Linked DNA regions of Homo sapiens: region 2 is linked to region 1. Evidence: promoter capture Hi-C in 16 types of primary human blood cells and fetal thymus (Javierre and others, 2016). All regions are on one chromosome and are shown on one strand. Each heading gives the region's core, a stretch centred on a gene start or on the middle of the fragment in contact. The rest is flanking DNA. Distances are from core to core; before and after follow the strand shown. Region 1 holds the start of TREH (trehalase). Region 2 overlaps DDX6 (DEAD-box helicase 6).

Region 1 (4,375 bases), core at 1,205-3,704:
CAGTCAGATGTAGTCTCTACAAAAAAATTTAAAAATTACCCAGGCGTGGTGGCATGCACCTGTAGTCCTGGCTACTCAGAAGGTTGAGGCCAGATGACCACTTGAGCCCCAGGAAGTCGAGGTTGTGGTGAGCTGTGTTCATGCCACTGTATTCCAGCCTGCTGGGTGATGGAGCAAGACTATGTGTCCAAAAAAAAAAAAAAACAAAACAAAACAAGGAAAGAAAATTACAGTCAAATATGCTCTATACATATTGATGCAAAATTCCTCAAAAAAATACTCGCAAGCCAAAACCAACAGTTTATTAAAAGGATTAGACATCATGACCAAGTGAGATTTATCCAAAGAATGCAAGGGTGGTTGCACAGCATTGTGAATGTAATAAAAGGAAATTGAATTGTACACTTAAAAATTGTTGACCAGGCATGGTGGCTCACACCTGTAATCCCAATACATTGGGAGGATGAGGCAGGAGGATTGCTTGAGCTCAGGAGTTCCACACCAGCCTGGACAACATAGGGAGACCCAATCTCTAAAAAAAAAAAAATTATTTTTAATTTAAAAATTAGTTGGGCGTGGTGGCATGTGCCTGTGGTCCCAGCTGCTCAGGAGGCTGAGGTGGGAGAATCCCTTAAACCTGAGAGATCAAGGCTGCAGTGAGCTGTGATGGAGCCACTGCATGCCAGCCTGGGCAACAGAGCGAGACCCTGTCTCAAAAAACAAAGCAAACAAAAAAAACAATGCCAGCTGCCCACATTACTGGGTGGAGCTATCTGAACCTTTACTAGTTCAGAGTGGTGCCTGATTCATGAGTCATTTCTTTGCTTGAATAAATGGTTAAATTTAATTTGTCTAAGGTTTTTCTTTTTAATAGCAGTAAACACTGCTCAGGTGCCACAACTGACATCCTTAACTGCAAACCTAAGTCCTTCAGGAGAGGTCATGCCTATCATTAAACTCCATGTGCCTTGCCCACCCCCTGTCCCCTGTCCCTTCAGCTCACCTTCCATATGTTGAGGGGATGAGCCTCCTAAAGTAACCGAATCTGCTTTTTTTTTTTTTTTTTTTTTTTTGAGACAGAGACTTACTCTGTCGCCCAGGCTGGAGTGCAGTGGCATGATCTCGGCTCACTACAACCTCTGTCTCCCGAGTTCAAGCGATTCTCCCACCTCAGCCTCCTGAGGAGCTGGGATTACAGGTACCCGCCATCATGCCCAGCTAATTTTTGTATTTTTGTAGAGACGGGGTTTCACCATGTTGGCCAGGCTGGTCTTGAACTCCTGACCTCAGGTGATCCACCCGCCTCGGCCTCCCAAAGTGGTGGGATTACAGGCATGAGCCACTGCACCCAGCCTGAATCTGCTTCTTAAGCTCACAAACTTCTCTGCTGGTTCCACTTTGGGGAATTACAAGGAATTACATTCCTTGGCTTGGCAAAGACCATTTCCAGACTGGTGCCAACATGTTCCTCCAGTCTATCTCAAAACCCTTCCCTGCATGAACACCAAGTTCTCTGCAGCTAGGCTGAGGGGTTTGCTCTTCTCTTCACATGCTCTGCATACATTGTAGTGGTCTCCAGCCCATTTCCCTTGGCAAACTCCTATGCGGTCATCAAGACTCATTAGGACTGGCGCAGTGGCTCACGCCTGTAATCCCAGCACTTTGGGAGGCCAAGGCGAGCAGATCATGAGGTCAAGAGATTGAGACCATCCTGGCCAACACAGTGAAACCCCGTCTCTACTAAAAATACAAAAATTAGCTGGGCGTGGTGGCGGGCACCTGTAGTCCCAGCTATTCAGGATGCTGAGGCAGGAGAATTGCTTGAACCCGGGAGGCGGAGGTGGCAGTGAGCTGAGATCACGCCACTGCACTCCAGCCTAGCGACAGAGTGAGACTCAGTCTCAAAAAAAAAAAAAAAAAGACTCATTACAAATGACACACTATTGTGGGTCTCCCTTAGTCCTCCCCAGACAGAATGGTTCTACTGTCCTGTGCTTCCGCTGTATCTCTTGCAGATAACAGTGAGAGGCCCTGAATTTCACACCACACCAGGGACAGGATCTTGAGCCATTCCATTTGAAATGTTAAGGGAAATGGTAACTCTCTGAGGTTGGTGGTCTTGGGGCCACCCAAGGAACCTGGCATCCAGGTTACAGGTGTGTGGCCTCGACTGTGTCCCTGGCCTTTGGGTGCCCACTCCCCACCCCCACCACCATGCTCTGAGGGAAGGGCCTGAGCCATTGGCACCAGCTGAGACTGTGAAATAGAAGAGGCAAAGTAGAAGCAAGGGAGGTGGCCACTGTGCCCTGAGAGCAGGAGGGGCAAGCGGGCCACACACAGACCAAGCACACGTCCCCTCAGGTGGCCACGCCTCAAAGGCTGGACTTTGGCCGACTTGGACAGGCAGGTGAGCCAGGCTGTGCCCAGCAAGCCGAAGGTGCCTGGGCTTGCTCATTCAGTCACAGTCACAGCCACCATGCCAGGGAGGACCTGGGAGCTGTGCCTGCTACTGCTGCTGGGGCTGGGACTGGGGTCCCAGGAGGCCCTACCCCCACCCTGTGAGAGGTAGGGGTGTGGGGAAGGCAGCAGGGGAGGATGGCAATAAGAGGGAGGCTGGGATGAGATCTCAAGCTCTGGGGTCGGTACTTCAGAGGGAAAGGAAGAGATTATAAAGGAAGGAAAGAGTAGGGAAGAGAAGAAAATGAGAATTCCTATGTAGCAGGCTCTGTGCTGGGCACTGCACCTGCAGTCCGTTTTTTTTGTTGTTGTTGTTAGAGTCTTGCTCGGTCGTCCAGATGGAGTACAGTGGCACCATCTCCACTCACTGCAGCCTAGACCTCCCGGGTTCGAGAGATTCTCGTGCCTCAGCCTCCTGAGTAGCTGGAATCACAGGCATGCACCACCACGCCCAGCCTGTCATTGATTTTTACCAAAATTTTCCACCGTTGGAAGGGACATTAGGCTTGGCGACTGTGCTGGGAATACAAGCGTGAGCCACCGCCCCCTGTCGGGACCTGCAGTCCTGATACCAGACGCAGCTGCCAGAGCCTGGCCTGAGGTCCAAGAGCCTGCTGGCCAGAGCCCGCCCTCCCTTCCTCTCCTCCTCCAAGCTGCCCCTTGAACTGTGCAGGCCTCTTCTCAGGATTGTTCTAGCAAACTTTCTGCTCCAGCTTCCTAGTCTGGGTGTGAGAGGCAGCCTAAGGGCCTGAAGACAGCACTTGGGCTTGAGCCCTGACCCTCATATTCTCTCTGTGACCCAGGGCAGGTCAAGGCTCTTTCCTGAGCCTGAGTTTCCATCACCAGGGACAGAGATGAGTGACCCTGTCCTGTCTCCTGGACTCAGGCGATGTCCACCCTTCGTTCCACATGGATTTATGGAGCTGTGGCCACATCAGCCACTTTACCAGCTCCTGCAAGAACAATAATAATAGAAGAAAAACAGCTGGGCACGGTGGCTCATGCCTGTAATCCCAGCACTTTGGGAGGCCAAGGTGGGAGCTATCATCTGAGGTCAGGAGTTCGAGACCAGCCTGGCCAACATGGTGAAACCCCATCTCTATGAAAAATACAAAATTAGCCGGGCATGGTGGCGCACGCCTGTAATCCCAGCTACTCGGGAGGCTGAGGCAGGAGAGTCGCTTGAACTTGGGATGTGGAGGTTGCAGTGAGCCAAGATCATGCCATTGCACTCCAGTCGGGGCAACAAGAGCAAAACTCTATCTCAAATAATAATAATAATAATAATAGAAGCAAAACAGTAACAGAAGCACAGTTTGAAGTAGAGAGAAGTTAGGGCCCGCTGGTGTGGGTGAGCAGAGGGTGTGTTAGAGAGGATGGGGAGGGACGGTGTCTCTGAGGAGGTGATGTGTAAGCAGAATTGTGGCAGGAACCATTGCTGAGCTGATCTGGGAGAGGACAGTCCAGGCATGGAAAGGGCCATGCAGAGGCCCTGACGCACTGTTCAGGGATTGGGACGAAGGCCTGTGTGATTGGGGCAGAGTGGGAACAGGTCCGGGGAGAGCGGGGCTCCAGGCAACAAGGTTTGGGCTTGGGTTCCAGTGGTTAGACTAGAGACAGAGACAAGGGGTTCAATAGAGGGTGTGTGTTACAGGGAGAGTTGACAGTGCTTGCCCATGACAATTGTGGAATATAAAGGGGAAAAGTGTACCTGGGATAATTAATAGGTTTTGTCCTGAGCAATTGTAATGAGGACTTCAGAGAGGCTGGGTGGTCCAGTGCTTTGTCAAGCATTAGGCTGTTTGCCAAATGTAGGGGAAGATGACTTTACTGGTGTTCCCTAAGACCAACCTCAGGCCAGTGATTCACTAACACTTCCAAATGGTTATACCATGATTATGGTTTCATTTTTTTTCTT
Region 2 (4,375 bases), core at 1,204-3,703, 92 kb before region 1:
GCAAGACCCTGTCTCACAAAAAAAAAAAAAAAAAAAAGACTGTTAGAGAATTAGGCACTTAAAATTATATGCTCTCAAAAGAGCTTTTACATTGACAGGCTGGAACCAGATATACTACAGATTGCTCCCACAACGTATTTCTAGAGCCATCTGTGACCAGTTCTAGGTCTGGATGCTGTGGCCAGTAGAATAATTGCCATTCTAAAGGTATAGCTTTATAGGAACCTAGACTTCTTTGGAAGGCTTAAGAATATACTGTTTTTGTCTGCTTAGCATTATTTGAAACTTTATATTAACTTTGGGGTTATGATTGAGAAAGATGGCCTCTCTCGTTGCTTCTAAACCCTGGGAACACCTCTTGAAGACTTTTTCGAAACTCTAAGAAGGTGAAGAAATGAGAAGTAGTTGATTATTGAGGGAAACATGGAAGCTCCGTACTGTTGGCAACAAAATTTTGTGCCAGGTCAGCTAAGGTCTAATGAGGATTAATAGTTTACTATTTATAGTTAGGAATTATAGCATTCTGAATCCTGTAAATAAGTCATTCTTCCTGCTAACAATCGGTTTATCATGATTGAAAAAAATATTTCCTAAAAACTCAAAGGTTTTTTTTGTTTGTTTGTTTTGTTTTTTTTTTTGGTGTGTGTTTTGTTTTGTTTTCTTTTTGGGTGGGGTCGGGGAGACAGAGTCTCAGTTTGTCACACTGGCTGGTCTTGAACTCCTGGCCTCAAGCAGTTCTCCTGCCTCAGCCTTGCAGAGGGTTGAGATTACAGGTGTGAGCCACCATCCCCAGCCTAAATTAGAGATATAATTAGAAATTACCATCTCCCTTTTTTTTTTTCCTGTTAAGCAGGGGACATTTGTAACAATCATTGCTACCTCGTCTGGAGTAACCATAGGTTGTTTTTTTGTTTTGTTTTATTTTGTTTTGAGACAGAGTCTCGCTCTGTCGCCCAGGCTGGAGTGCAGTGGTGCAATCTTGGCTCACTGCAAGTTCTGCCTCCTGGGTTCACGCCATTCCCCTACCTCAGCCTCCCAAGTGGCTGGGACTGCAGGCGCCTGCCACCACGCCCGGCTAATTTTTTTGTATTTTTTTAGTAGAGACGGGGTTTCACCATGTTAGCCAGGATGGTCTCCATCTCCTGACCTCATGGTCTGCCCACCTCGGCCTCCCAAAGTGTTGGGATTACAGGCGTGAGCCACCGCGCCCGGCCTTTAACCATAGGTTTTTTTTCCCTCTTGGAAATTAAGGTTTGGAAAATAAGAGGAAGCAGTCAGTGTAAATGCAGCTAGTTGGGTGATGTTGAGCTTTTGTTGGTACCACACTTTTGTAAAATGCCTCTCAATGCTAGGAGATTGGAAAATAAACCATTCTTTAATTATAGGCATCAGAAACCAACTCGATCTAACTTAAGCAAAAGGAAATTTATTGGAAAAATAACGGGAATTCACAAGATTGAGAAGGCTAGAGAAACATACTTGGAAATGACTAAGAATTGAGATAGCTCTGAAGGACTTAGGAAGCTGTAATGGATGCACTATAACAATTTAGATTCTTAGGAGGCAACATTCCGCTGGCCCAGTGTGGGCTATGTGTCTACCACTTGGCTTAGAAAATTGGTGAGGCTTGGTCTGTTGGGACAGGGGAGACCAGGGCATATGTAATTCCTTAGAAGGAAATTGGGGTGTTACTTAGTAAAGGGATACTAGAGTAACCAAAACACAACAAATACTCTTCAGTCATTATCTAAACGTTACAGTGAATGTGAATTTGGAGACCTAAGGTGGCAGATGTCAGCCCTAAGCTTGTGGGGTTGGTTTTTTGGGGTTTTGTTTTTTGGGGGTAATAGCTTTATTGAGATATAAATGACATCACACATCAAAAGTATACAATTTAATGCTTTTTAGTGCATTTAGAGTTCTGCAACCATTACCACAATAAATTTTAGAACATTTTGATCAGTCCCACAAAAGAAACCCTTTTAGCAGTCACACCTCATTTTCCCACACCCCTAAACAACCACTGGTATACTTTCTGTCATTCTAGCTTTGCCTAGTCTGGACATGTCATATAAATAGAATCCTATAGTATGTGTTTTTTTTGTGACTGGCTTCTTTGACTTAGCGTAATGTTTTCCGAGTTCATCTGTGTTGTAGCTTGTATCAATATTCCATTCCTTTTTCCTGAATAATATTTTATTGTATGGCTCTATTACTTCTGATTTATCCAGTCATCAGTTGGTAGACATTTGGGGTTGTTTTCCAAGGACTGAGGATTTAATGTGCTATTTTGTGAAAATCTGAGAAGTAGGAAGGGGATTTAATGATCTCAACTGTCATCCGTCTGAAAAACCTAACTTGTGATTTTAAATAAAATAGCAGGCTGCCTTCCCCTGTTCCCTTTTTAAAATAGGAACTGACCCTGCTTTAACCTTATGAAGTTTTATTTATGAATAAAGTTTGTACTATTATAAAAAAAAACATAGAAGGAACTGGCTATTAAGGATAATGCTGCTATGAAAATTCAGGTGCAGGTTTTTGTGTGGAGATGTTTTTATTTCTCTTCGCTGTATACCTAGAATTGCTAGTTCATATGGTAACTCTTTTTAACCTTTTGAGGAACTGCAAGGCTGGTTTCCAGCGTAGCTGTACATTCCCACTAGCAGTGTATGAGAGTTCCATTTTCTCCAACTTCTTGCCTACATGTTATGTGCAGATCTAAGTTCAAATACTGGCTAAAGCATTTCTTGCTTTGTGACCTTGGGCAAACTAATCCTGTTTAGGATCCATTTTGTCAGTTGTAAAACAAAGTACCTAACTTGAAAGTTGTGCTGAGCACATAGTAAGTTTTAAAAAAAGTTTTCGTTTCCTTCCTCCTTTGCCTTCTCCCTGGCAGTTCCTCATAATTTCCTCTTGTATTTCACAGCTTTTTGAACTTGACTTGAATTCTCTTGCTTTTCATTATTTCCTGAGAAACACTGGTAAGAGGCAGTGTGGATGTGCTGAATTCACTGACTGTTAATCATAATGGCCATCATATAAGGCAAAATATCAGGGTGTCTTAACTTACAGTCTATCACATGTACTTTGTTAAAGCTTTATCCTTGAACAGTTTTTGTAGGGTATAATCCCTGTCAAAGAGGGCAAAGGAATAGAAGTCAATGGCCTTAATCAAGTCAGTCAAAAGATGAACTGAAAAGGGGGATTAGGATACCTCTAGTCTAATTCTGTTCTGCCTCACTTGATTGAAAAAAAGGTTTACACTTTAAAGAACCTGACCCAGCAAGTCGTTATGAGACCATCAGAGACCACCTATCTTACTTTTTCAATACTGTAAAACTGAGTAGTGTGCAGGCAGCCTGTTAAAAACTACAGACTACTGGCACCACAGAACCACAAAAGAGAAAACCTGAGGTGACAGGGTAATGGGAGCCTCTGGAACAACTGGAAATAATGGTTCACTTATCTGTGATGAGGGAAGAAATTTAAGACCAAAGGGTTAAAGCCAAGGTTTTCTTCTTTGTTTGCTTTACCTTAATAAGCAGAGTCTTTAATGCTGGCTGTAAGAACAAGACAACAGTATTTTCTTTTCTTTTCTCTCTCTTTTTTTTTTTTTTTGTGAGACTGAGTCTTGCTCCATTGCCCAGGCTGGAGTGCAGTGGCGCAATCTTGGCCCACTGCAACCTCCTCCTCCTGGGCTCAAGCAGTTCTCCTACCTCAGGCTCCCAAGTAGCTGGGACTACAGGTGCGCACCATGACCATTTTTGTATTTTTAACAGAGATGGGGTTTCACCATGTTGGCCAGGCTGGTCTCGAACTCCTGACCTCAGGTGATCTGCCTACCTCAGCCTCCCAAAGTGCTGGGATTACAGACATGAGCCATCGTTCCCAGCCAACAACAATATTTTCACAGTTGTTCTGGCAGCTGTGTTGTTCTGACCATATGGAACCCATTTATATCCTGTGATTGGAGCTCTAGGTAGAAAGAGTGTTGTCGTGGGAGATGGAAGTCATCCTGCTTATTTAGTCATTTCTACCAATAGCAGCTTTAAAGGGCTAAAGCTGTTTTTTGTTTGTTTGTTTGTTTTTGTCGTTAGCCCAGGCATAGAAGGGACAAATGTCAGTGACTGTGAATTTGGTTCCTAGTATCTTAGTTTTAGAAATTAAAAATTCAGGCCAGACACAGTGGCTCATGCCTGTAATCCCAACACTTTGGGAGGCCGAGGTCGGTGGATCATCTGAGGTCATGAGTTCAAGACCAGCCTGGCCAACATGGTGAAACACCCCGTCTCTACTAAAAATACAAGAATTAGCTGGGTGTGGTGGCACACGCCGTTAATCTAAGCTGCTCGGGAGGCTGAGGCAGGAGAATCGC

What was found. The method cuts DNA at HindIII sites, captures the fragments that hold promoters and counts their contacts. A CHiCAGO score of 5 or more calls a contact.
Region 2: a fragment that was not itself captured here is called in contact with the fragment with the promoter of TREH in region 1 in 1 of 17 cell types (naive CD4 T cells); the score reaches 5.7 in naive CD4 T cells.

Annotation. Positions count from the first base shown.
Region 1 is chr11:118,677,729-118,682,103 of GRCh38, reverse strand. TREH (trehalase) reads left to right here and starts at 2,454. Exons shown (of 15, transcript NM_007180.3): 1 at 2,454-2,565. The coding sequence starts at 2,477. RefSeq lists enhancers at 1,903-2,562, 2,563-3,224. The HindIII fragment of the contact is 8,736 bases long and covers 1-4,375 here.
Region 2 is chr11:118,770,127-118,774,501 of GRCh38, reverse strand. The region is part of intron 4 of DDX6 (DEAD-box helicase 6); the gene reads left to right. Among named protein-coding and RNA genes, the nearest start is that of DDX6, 19 kb to the left of the region's middle. The HindIII fragment of the contact is 1,291 bases long and covers 1,808-3,098 here.